Linked DNA regions of Homo sapiens: region 2 is linked to region 1. The links are contacts of gene promoters, found by promoter capture Hi-C in human tissues and cell types (Jung and others, 2019). All regions are on one chromosome and are shown on one strand. The core of a region is centred on a gene start or on the middle of the fragment in contact, and the rest is flanking DNA. Distances in the headings are between cores, read along the strand shown. Region 1 holds the start of ERCC2 (ERCC excision repair 2, TFIIH core complex helicase subunit). Region 2 overlaps APOE (apolipoprotein E).

Region 1 (5,817 bases), core at 3,318-5,817:
GAGAGAGAAAAGAAACTTTTATGCAACAGTGCTTGTCAGGGTCCTTCCATCCTTTCTCTCTTTCTCCCTTTCTCTCTCTCTCTCTGTCTCTTTCTCTCTTTCTCTCTTTCCTTCTTTCTTCCTTTCTGAGACGGAGTCTGTTGCCCAGGATGGAGAGCAATGGCGCGATCTTGGCTTACTGCAACCTCTACCTCCCAGGTTCAAGCCATTCTCCAGCCTCAGCCTCCCAAGTAGCTGGGACTACAGACATGTGTCACCACGCCCGGCTAATTTTTGTATTTTTAGTAGAGATGAGGTTTCACCATGTTGGCCAGGCTGGTCTCCAACTCCTGACCTCAAGTGATCCGCCCGCCTCGGCCTCACAAAGTGCTGGGATTATAGGCGTGAGCCATCACTCCTGCCATGGAGCTGACTTTTGTTTTTTTCGAGACAGAGTTTCACTCTTGTTGCCCAGGCTGGAGTGCAATGGCGCGATCTCGGCTCAGCGTTAACCTCTGCCTCCCAGGTTCAAGCGATTCTCCTGCTTCAGCCTTCTGAGTAGTTGGGATTACAGGCATGCGACACCACACCCAGCTAATTTTTGCATTTTTAATAGAGATGAGGTTTCACCGTGTTGGTCAGGCTGGTCTGGAACTCCTGACCTCACATGATCCACCTGTTCCAGCCTCCCAAAGTGCTGGGATTACAGGCGTGAGCCCCCGCGCCCAGCCAGGAGCTTTCTAAACAAAATAAATAAGTAAAATATTCAGCATGTCACATGGTTAAATGAGCTCTCAAGAACAATAAAGCAGGGAAAGGGGATATAGTGTGTGTGTGTGTGTGTGTGTGCGTGCGTGCGTGTGTGTGTGTGCGTGCGTGCGTGCGTGTGTGTGTGTGTCTAGGAGGTAGATTTAATTTGGTGGTCAGGAAGCCCTCATTGAGAAGGAGACTTTTTTTTTTTTGAGACAGAGTCTTGCTTTGTCACCCAGGCTGGAGTACAGTGGCATGATCTTGGCTCACTGCAGCCTCTGCCTCCCGGGTTCCAGCAATTCTCCTGCCTCAGCCTCCCGGGTAGCTAGGATTACTGGTATGTGCTACCATGCTTTGCCAATTTTTGTATTTTTAGTAGAGACGGGATTTCACCATCTTGGCCAGGCTGGTCTCGAACTCCTGATCTCAGGTGATCTGCCCACCTCAGCCTCCCAAAGTGGTAGGATTACAGGTGTGAGCCACCATGCCGGGCCGAGAAGTTGACAATTGAGCAAAGAGCTGAGGGAGGTGAGTGTGTCAGCCACATGGCTATCAGGGGAAACAGCATTCCAGGCAGACAAAATAGCTGGTGCAAAGGCCCTGAGATGGGATGTGCTTGTTATGTTTTAGAGACAGCAAGGAGACCAGCATAGCTGAAACAAAATGAGCTGGGGGAGAGAGAGGAGGAGATCAGAGCAGTAAGGTGGGTTGGTATGGGGATGATGAGCAGTAAGCTAGTTACAGAGGACTCTGTAGGTGACAGTAAAGATTTTGGATCTGGGCTGGATGCAGAGGCTCACGCTTGTAATCCCAGTACTTTGGGAGGCTGAGGGAACAGGATGGCTTGAGCCCAATACCAGCCTGGGCAACATAGCGAGACCCTGTCAATAACAAAATATATTTTCTTCCTGTAGGAGATAGAAAAGTAAACATAAAAAAATTTATGTAAATAAATTAAGCCGGGCACAGTGGCTCACGTCTGTAATCCCACCACTTTGGGAGGCTGAGGTGGGAGAATTGCTTGAGCTCAGGAGTTCAACCAGCCTGGACAACATAGTGAGATACCCTCGTCTCTACAAAAAATTAAAAAAAATTAACCAGGCGTGGTGTCGTGTACCCGCAGTCCCAGCTACTCAGGAGGCTGAGGTGGGAGGATCACTTGAGCCCTGGAGGTCAAGGTGGCAATGAGCCAAATTCACACCACCATACTCCAGGCTGGGACAGAGCAAGACTCTGTCTCCAAAAATACAGCCGGGAAGGGTGGCTCACACCTGTAATCCCAGCACTTTGGGAGGCTGAAGTGGGTGGATCTTTTGAGGTCAGGAGTTTGAGGCCAGCCTGGCCAACATAGTGAAACCCCGTTTCTACTAAAAGTATAAAAATTAGCTGGGCAGTAGTGGTGCGCACCTGTAATCCCAGCTACTAGGGAGGCTGAGGCCAGAGAATTGCTTGAGCCTGGGTGGCAGAGGTTGCGGTGCGCTGAGATTGTGCCACTGTACTCCAGTCTGGGCGAAAGAGTGAGACCTTGTCTCAAAAATAAATAAATTAAGAATTAATTAATTTAAAAAAGAGATTTCGATCTGCCCCTGCCTTCCCCTCCAGCTGCCCTTTCTCTGCTCCCTGTGCTCAACTCAGAGCTCCACCCCCACAGGCTTCCTTTCAGCACTCACAGGCCTCAGCTTTCTTCTGGCCTAGAGCTTTTGTGTATGATGGTCTCTCTCCCTGGAACACCTTTCTCACTTCTCTCATCCATCCCCTCTTGCTGGTTGATCTCTTCTAATTATTTTCTGGCTCTACTCAAACCTCGCTTCTTCCACGAAGCCTTCTCTGATCACTTGGCCAACACTCACACCCCACAGTTGACAGTAGACATCCTGTCATAATAAGTCTTTTTTTTTTTTCTTTTTCTGGGACGGAGTCTTGCTCTGTCACGCAGGCTGGAGTGCAGTGGCGTGATCTTGGCTCACTTCTGCCTCCTGGGTTCAAGCAATTCTCCTGCTTTAGCCTCCCGAGTAGATGGGATTACAGATGCATGCCACTATGCCTGGCTTTTTTTTTTTTTTTTTTTTTTTTAGTAGAGATAGGGTTTCACCATGTTGACCAGGCTGGTCTTGAACTCCTGACCTCGTGATCCATCTGCCTTGGCCTCCCAAAGTGCTGGGATTACAGGCATGAGCCACTGCACCCAGCCCATAATCAATCTTTATGGTGACTTGAAGTTTTCCTTCACAGCACTTTTGTACTTGTGATTATACACGTGCGCACACACACACACACACACACACACACACACATTTGAGATAGGTTTTCACTCCTGTTGCCCAGGCTGGAGTGCAGTGGCACAATCACTGCCCATTGCAACCTCTGCCTCCCAGGCCCAGGTGATTCTCCCACCTCAGCCTCCTGAGTATCTGGGACTACAGGTGCACGCCACCACGCCCAGCTAATTTTTGCATTTTTTGTAGAGACGGGTTTTCACCATGTTGCCCAGGCTGGTCTCTAGCTCCTGAGCTCAAGCAATGTACTCGCCTTGGCCTTCCAAAGTGTTGGAACCACAGGCACGAGCCACCACTCCAGGCTGTAATCATATATTCATTTGTATATTTAATATCTGTTCTTTGAGGCCAGGCCTGGTGCCTCACCCCTGTAATCCCAACAATTTGAAAGGCTGAGGGGAGAGGATCACTTGAACCTGCGAGTTTAACCAGCCTGGGCAACGTGGTGAGACCTCGTCTCTAAAAAAATTTAAAAAATAAAACTTAGCTGGGCTTGGTGGTGCACACCTGTGGTCCCAGCTACTCTGGAAGCTGAGGTGGGAGGATCGCTTGAGCCCAAGAGGTGGAGGCTGCAGTGAGCTGTGACTGTGCCACTGCACTCCAGCCTTGGCGACAGAGAAAGACCCTGTCTCAAGGAAAAAAATCTGTTCTTTGAGGGCAGGTGCTGAGGCTGTCATGGTCACCTTTCTGTTCCCAGGGGCCAGCACAGGATCAGACACATGGTAGATGCCACATAGCTATTTGTTGAAGAAACAAACAAAAGCTAGCATTTATGTTTTATTTATTAGTTATTATTATTAATATTTGAAATGGAGTTTCGCTTTTGTTGCCCAGGCTAGAGTGCGACGGCGCCATCTCTGCTCACTGCAACCTCTGCCTCCCAGGTTCAAGCAATTCTCCTGCTTCAGCCTCCCGAGTAGCTGGGATTACAAGCATTTGCCAGCACGCCCGGCTAATTTTGTATCTTTAGTAGAGACAGGTTTTCTCCATGTTGGTCAGGCTGGTCTTGAACTCCCGACCTCAGGTGATCCACCTGCCTCAGCCTCCCAAAGTGCTGGGATTACAGGCTTGAGCCACCGCGCCCGGCCTGCAAAGCCATTTCTAACTCTTGGGCCCAGAAAGGATCACCAATTTCCCTGTCATTCTCCGTTAGACTATTCGCTACTGAGACGATTTTTTTTTTTTTTTGAGACGAGGTGGAGGGGCGGGGGTTCTCGCTATCTTGCTCAAGCTGATCTCGAACTCCTGGGTTCGATCAATACTCAGACAATCTTGGCAGGCGCAGGAGGACCAAATTCTAGTGAATGAGATCGAGTCTCTCGGCTCTTTCCCTTCCATGTTTTCTTTTTGATTGGCCCTCGACGATCCTCAGTGACGCCTCCCGCACCGCCTCACCCGAGAGTCAGCCGCCCTCGCTTTTCCGTGCGCACGCGCAGTATCCCGATTGGCTCTGCCCTAGCGGATTGACGGGCAGGTTAGCCAATGGTCTCGTAATATAGGTGGAGCGAGCCCTCGAGGATGTCCACGACCCGGCCTCTCGCTGAATATTCATGAGGGAGGCGGGTCGACCCCGCTGCACAGTCCGGCCGGCGCCATGAAGTGAGAAGGGGGCTGGGGGTCGCGCTCGCTAGCGGGCGCGGGGGGTCTTGAAGATGGGGTCATCGGTGGGCGCGCCTGGGTCCCCAAGGGGGCGAGGGGAGGGTGAAGGGGTGGGACGGGGGCAGCCGCAGGGAGCAGCAGTGATAGCGAGGAGACACTGAGGGGGCCCCGAGGCTCCTGAGGACCTGAGGGTTACCGGGGGCGCCGGGCCCGTCACCCTTCTCTGGGCTCGACGACCGGGCACTGTGGAGGCGGGAGAGGGGCTGAGGGGACGGGAACTGACCCAGCAGCCCCTGCCGCCAGGCTCAACGTGGACGGGCTCCTGGTCTACTTCCCGTACGACTACATCTACCCCGAGCAGTTCTCCTACATGCGGGAGCTCAAACGCACGCTGGACGCCAAGGTGGGTGGCCGGTGGGCCCGACCCGCCCACTCGACCGGTGGGGCTGCCACGCCTGGGCCTAAGACAGATTGCAGGACGTCTGGATTTTAGAAGTCCGAGGTCCCTGGGAATCCAGGACCCCATAATCTTCCGTTATCTAAAACAATAATGGTGAATAGGCTGGGCGCGGTGGCTCGCGCCTGTAATCCCAGAGCTTTGGGAGGACGAGGCGGGCGGATCACTTGAGGTCAGGAGTTGGAGACCAGCCTGGCCAACACGGTGAAACCCCGTCTGTACTAAAAATACAAAAATTAGCCAGGTGTGGTGGCGGGCGCCTGTAATCCCACCTACTCGGGAGGCTGAGGCAGGAGGATCGCTTGAGGCCAGGAGTTGGAGGCTGCAGTGAGCCATGATTGTGCCACTGCATTCCAGCCTGGGCAATAGTGACACTTGTCTCTTAAAAAAGAAGGGAGAAAAGTTCACTATATATCAGCTACTGTGCCAAATATTTAACCTGCAATTTCTCACAATCCTCATAGTCATGTTATGAGGAAGGTTTTATTATTAGGCCCATTTTATTTTATTTATTTATTTTTGAGATTGAATTACAGGTGCGCGCCACCACATCTGGCTAATTTTTTGTATTTTTAGTAGAGACGGGGTTTCACCTTGTTGGCCCAGCTGGTCTTGAACTTCTGACCTCAGGTGGTTCACCTGCCTCAGCCTCCCAAAGTGCTGGGATTACAGGTGTGAGCCACCACGCCTGGCTTTAGGCTCATTTTAGAGATAGGGATACTGAGGTCTGGGGAGGTGAAGGTACTTGCCTAAGAC
Region 2 (5,818 bases), core at 2,477-4,976, 460 kb after region 1:
CACTCCAGCTTGGGTGACAGAGTGAGACTCCGTCTCAAAAACATAAAAAAAATTTAAAAAAGGGGGCTCTTTGTCCTTCTCCTTCCCAGGCTCCAGGATGTCTCTGTGGATGGTTGCTGGGTCAGCTCCTGTCCCATACGACTCCCTGCCAGCCTTTGTTCTGGAACCTCCTTCCCATCCTTGTCCCACCTCTGGATCTGACTGGGGATGTGGTGAGATAGGGCACCCTGTCTGCTTAGACATCTTCATAGGTTGGTGGGGCGTGGTGGCTCACACCTGTAATCCAACTACTTTGGGAAGCTTTGGCAGGAGGATCTGCTTGAGCCCAAGAGTTTGAGATCAGCCTGGGCAACATAGTAAGACCCCATCTCTACAAAAAAGTTTAAAATATGGCCAGGCATGGTGGCTCACTCCTGTAATCCCAGTGCTTTGGGAGGCCGAGGCGGGTGGATCACCTGATGTCAGGAGTTTGAGACCAACCTGACCACCGTGGTGAAACCTCGTTTCTACTAAAAATACAAAAATTAGCCTGGTGTGGTGGTGTGCGCCTGTAATTCTAGCTACTCAGGAGGCTGAGGCAGGAGAATTGCTTGAACCCGGGGGGCAGAGGTTGCGGTGAGCCAAGATGGTGCCACTGCACTCCAGCCTGGGCGACAGAGTGAGACTCCATCTCAAAAAAGAAAGAATTAGCCAGGCATGGTGGTGGGTGCCTGTGGCCCCAGCTACTCAGGAGGTTGAGGCAGGAGGGTTGCTTGAGTTGGAGGCTGCAGTGATTGATGATCGTGCTACTGCACTCCAGCGTGGTCGACTGAGCAAGGCACTGTCTCAAAAAAAAAAAAAAATTCTTAAAGGTGAGAACTCAAGGTTCGATTCTTCAGGTGGGAGATGTGGCTGATGCTGATTCTCTCATTGACATCTGGGGAAACTGAGGCTCTGAGAGGGTGCTGCTCCAGCTCCTGGACATACGGTGAATCAGCAGCAGGCCCAGCAGACCAGGCCCCCTGCCTGTGAGCACACTGACCCTTCCCCTCCTCACTCAGCCCTGGTGAGTCATCTCCAGGGGAGGGGTGCTGCCTCCACGTGGGTGATCAGAGCAGTGCCAGGGAAAGCACCAAGTTCAGGGTGTGCAGGAGCCAAGATGGGCAGAGGGACAAGCAGATGTTGCAGCTGGCCCAGGAGATACAAGCTCAAGTCTCAGCCTGTCCCCCGTTGGTGGGAACCCTCCTCCCCGTCTCTGAGAACTGAGGGGGTGGGAGGAGAAGAGAGTGCCGGCGGCTCCTGGGCTTCCATCCAAGCTTCCCCTCTCTGAGCGCCAGCTCTCGTCTCAGCATGGGCCTGGTGCAGACTCCGACAGAAGAGCCGCTCCCTTCTCTTCCCAGCCTGGATTCAGCACCCAGTAGGCTTGTTGGGAAACATGAGGGGTAGACATCACAACTGGAGGAAAGGATGGAGAATGAGGGATGGTCCGGGTGAGGTGGCTCATGCCTGTAATCCCAGCACTTTGGGAGGGTGAGGCAGGCAGATTACTTGAGGTCAGGAGTTCGAGACCTGCCTGGCCAACAATGCCGAAGCCTTGTCTCTACCAAAAATACAAAAATTAGTCGGGTGTGGTGGGACACGCCTGTAATCCCAGCTACTCTGGAGGCTGAGGCAGGAGAATTGCTTGAATCTGGGAAGTGGAGGTTGCAGTGAACCAAGATTGCACCACTGCACTCCAGGCTGGGCAACAGAGCAAGACTCTGTCTCAAAAAAAAAAAAAAAAAAAAAAAAAAAAAAAGAAAGAAAGAAAGAGAATGAGGGTTGGGCAGGGAAACCCAGTTCACAGTGGGTGAAGGGACAGCTAGCTCAGAGGGAACCGGAGAAGCAGAGAGCTCAAACCAAACTGAATGGCAGAAGAAGAAATCCAGATGAAGGGGGTTGGGGGAGAAACAAGCAGGCCGGGGAGAAAGAAAAGAAACCGTAGGAGGGAGAGATAAAAGATAGAAGTGGAGGAAAACAGGAAGCCAGAGTCTCCTGAGGAGAACAGGGAGAGACAGAGGGGTGGGATGGGGTGCAGGGTGGGTGGGAAGGAGGCAGATATCAGATAAGACTGGAGGAGAGAAGGGGGAGAATAATGACAGCAGAAAAAAAATGAAAATAGCTTAGAATAAAGGCACCAATCTCAGGTCATTTGGAGTTGCAACTCTGAGGAACAAGTATTATTAAGTTGGGCAGGCCGGGCTCGGAGCCCCATGCCTGGAATCCCAGCACTTTGGGAGGCCGATGGCGGAGGATCTCTTGAGCCCAGGGGTTTGAGACTAGCCTGGGCAACATATTGAGACCTTGTCTCTACAAATAATAATAAAAAGCTGGGTGTGGTGGTGCTAGCCAGTAGTCTCAGCTACTCAGGAGGCCAAGGTGGGAGTATCGCTTGAGCCCAGGAATTCCACATCAGCCTGGCCAACAAAGCCAGACCCCATCTCCACACACACCACCCCCCCCCCCAAATTAATCCTAGTGGTATGCGCCTGTAGTCTCAGCTACTGGAAAGGCTGAGGCGGGAGGATCACTTATCACTTGAGTCCAGGAGGTGGAGGCTGCAGTGAGCTGTGATGGCGGGTGACAGGGTGAGACCTTTCCCTGCCCCCTAAAAAAGAAAGAGGGGCAGAGGCCGGGCATGGTGGCTCAGGCCTGTAATCTCAGCACTTTGGGAGGCCGGCGGGTGGATCACTTGGTCAGGAGTTTGAGACCTGCCTGGCCAACATGGTGAAAGCTCGTCTCTACTAAAAATACAAAAATTAGCCGGGTGTGGTGGTGTGAGCCTGTAATCCCAGCTACTGAGGCAGCAGAATCGCTTGAACCCAAGAGGCAGAGGTTGCAGTGAGCCAAGATCGTGCCACTGCACTCTAGCCTGGGTGACAGAGCCAGACTCCGTCTAAAAAAAAAAAAAAGGGCAGAGAGAAAGATACACACAGACACAGATGGAGAGGAGGGGGCTGAGAATTGTGTGGCCAGTATGTGGGCAGAAAGAGAAACTGAGGCTGGGGCTTAGAGGAAATCACAGGGGGAGGCCAGCAGATGCGTGAAACTTGGTGAATCTTTATTAAACTAGGGTCCACCCCAGGAGGACGGCTGGGGCGGGGACAGGGTCTCCCGCTGCAGGCTGCGCGGAGGCAGGAGGCACGGGGTGGCGTGGGGTCGCATGGCTGCAGGCTTCGGCGTTCAGTGATTGTCGCTGGGCACAGGGGCGGCGCTGGTGCCCACGGCAGCCTGCACCTTCTCCACCAGCCCGGCCCACTGGCGCTGCATGTCTTCCACCAGGGGCTCGAACCAGCTCTTGAGGCGGGCCTGGAAGGCCTCGGCCTGCAGGCGTATCTGCTGGGCCTGCTCCTCCAGCTTGGCGCGCACCTCCGCCACCTGCTCCTTCACCTCGTCCAGGCGGTCGCGGGTCCGGCTGCCCATCTCCTCCATCCGCGCGCGCAGCCGCTCGCCCCAGGCCTGGGCCCGCTCCTGTAGCGGCTGGCCGGCCAGGGAGCCCACAGTGGCGGCCCGCACGCGGCCCTGTTCCACCAGGGGCCCCAGGCGCTCGCGGATGGCGCTGAGGCCGCGCTCGGCGCCCTCGCGGGCCCCGGCCTGGTACACTGCCAGGCGCTTCTGCAGGTCATCGGCATCGCGGAGGAGCCGCTTACGCAGCTTGCGCAGGTGGGAGGCGAGGCGCACCCGCAGCTCCTCGGTGCTCTGGCCGAGCATGGCCTGCACCTCGCCGCGGTACTGCACCAGGCGGCCGCACACGTCCTCCATGTCCGCGCCCAGCCGGGCCTGCGCCGCCTGCAGCTCCTTGGACAGCCGTGCCCGCGTCTCCTCCGCCACCGGGGTCAGTTGTTCCTCCAGTTCCGATTTGTAGGCCTTCAACTCCTTCATGGTCTCGTCCATCAGCGCCCTGCGGCCGAGAGGGCGGGAGGGTGTCGCACAGTGGGAGGCGGGGAGAAGGGCTGGGATGGGGCGGGCGAGATGGGGATGAGCCAGAGAGACCCAAGAGGGAGAGAAGGAACGGGGCAGAGGCCGAGAGAAGGAGACAGAGACAGATGCAGAGAGCAGATGCAGAGGGCAGAGGCAGAGACGAAGAAGGAGCTAGGAGGCCGGGCAAGGTGGCTCATGCCTCTAATCCCAGCACTTTGGGAGGCCGAGGCGGGAGGATCGCTTGAGCCCAGAAGTTCAAGACCAGCCTGGGCAACACAGTGAGACCCCATCTCTCTGTCTCTATATAAAAGAGCTAGGGAAGGACAGAGACAGAGCCAGGACGAGTGTGAGAGACTGAGTCAGAAGGGAAGAGAGAGAGACAAAGCTGAGAGAGAGAATTCCAGAGAGCTAAAGCCAGGAGTCAGAAATGGGAAGAGGAAGCTAGAACCAGCAGAGACCCAGGCCCCCCAAGACTTAGCGACAGGGGCAGAATGAAACCTGGACCTGGGGAGGTATAGCCGCCCACCAGGAGGGTCAAGGGCCAGGATGGGGACACTCACCTCAGTTCCTGGGTGACCTGGGAGCTGAGCAGCTCCTCCTGCACCTGCTCAGACAGTGTCTGCACCCAGCGCAGGTAATCCCAAAAGCGACCCAGTGCCAGTTCCCAGCGCTGGCCGCTCTGCCACTCGGTCTGCTGGCGCAGCTCGGGCTCCGGCTCTGTCTCCACCGCTTGCTCCACCTTGGCCTGGCATCCTGTGTGGAACAAGTTCAAGGTGGGTCAGGGTCCTTCTGACCCCGTCCAGGCATCTAGTACCTAGGGGCACACAGAAGGTGCTCCACAAATGCTTCTTTGGAGCCATGGTGGGCAGGGTGAGGGGGGAGTCGGTTTAATCACTTGGAAAGCATTATGTATTTATAAACAGGGTCTTGCTCTGTCACCCAGGCTGGAGTGCAGCGGCCTGAACATGGTTCACTGCAACCTTGACCTTCTGGGCTCAAGCGATCCTCCTGCCTCAGCCTCCTGAGTAGCTGAGAGCACAGGTGTGTGGCACCATGCCTGGCTAATTTTTGTATTTTTAGTAGAGACAGGGTCTCACTATGTTGCCCAGGCTGGTGTTGAACTCCTGGGCTCAAGTGATCCTCCCACCTTGGCCTCCCAAAGTGCTGGGATTACAGGGGTGAGCCACCGCGCCCAGCGGAAAAGCATGTATTGAGTGTCCTTGTGTGCCCCAGGCAGGGCTGTGTGGGGGTGATGGAGAATAAAGATCACAGCTGCCCCGTGTCTGGTATTCACTATCTGCCTGCAATGCATTAGAAACCTCTAACTCCCAGCCAGGTGCGGTGGCTCACGCCTGTAATCCCAGCACTTTGGGAGATCGAAACGGGCAGATCACCTGAGGTCAGGAGTTCCAGACCAGCCTGGCCAACATGGTGAAACCCCGTCTCTACTGAAAATACAAAAAAGTTAGTCGGGTGTGGTGGCATGTGCCTGTAGTCCCAGCTACTTGGGAGGCTGAGGCAGGAGAATGGCGTGGACCTGGGAGGCGGAGCTTGCAGTGAGCCGAGATCCCGCCACTGCACTCCAGCCTGGGCGACAGAGCGAGACTTCATCTCAAAAAAACAAAACAACAACAACAAACAACAACAACAAAACAACTTCTAACTCCTATCTCAAGGATGGGGGAAACCGAGGCCCAGAGAGCGTCAAATCGCTGTTCAGAGCCAGGAAGCAGCACAGAAGCCTCAGAAGAGGGGGCCCAGGGTCTGCCTGAATGGGGCCAGGAGGTTGAGGTGAGGATGAGAGGGGGAGGAGCGGGGGGAACCGAGCAAGCCCCGCCCCCATACCTGCCAGGAATGTGACCAGCAACGCAGCCCACAG

What was found. Contacts are between HindIII fragments. The study calls those that stand out against the background at their distance.
Region 2: a fragment that was not itself captured here is called in contact with the fragment with the promoter of ERCC2 in region 1 in 1 of the 25 tissues and cell types used here (spleen).

Annotation. Positions count from the first base shown.
Region 1 is chr19:45,369,323-45,375,139 of GRCh38, reverse strand. ERCC2 (ERCC excision repair 2, TFIIH core complex helicase subunit) reads left to right here and starts at 4,567. Exons shown (of 23, transcript NM_000400.4): 1 at 4,567-4,604; 2 at 4,908-5,007. The coding sequence starts at 4,600. RefSeq lists enhancers at 4,274-4,353, 4,972-5,813. The HindIII fragment of the contact is 25,658 bases long and covers 1-5,817 here.
Region 2 is chr19:44,906,634-44,912,451 of GRCh38, reverse strand. It overlaps APOE (apolipoprotein E), which reads right to left. Exons shown (of 4, transcript NM_000041.4): 2 at 5,785-5,818; 3 at 4,500-4,692; 4 at 3,059-3,919. The coding sequence ends at 3,202. Among named protein-coding and RNA genes, the nearest start is that of APOE, 3.7 kb to the right of the region's middle. RefSeq lists an enhancer at 4,932-5,734. The HindIII fragment of the contact is 5,856 bases long and covers 799-5,818 here.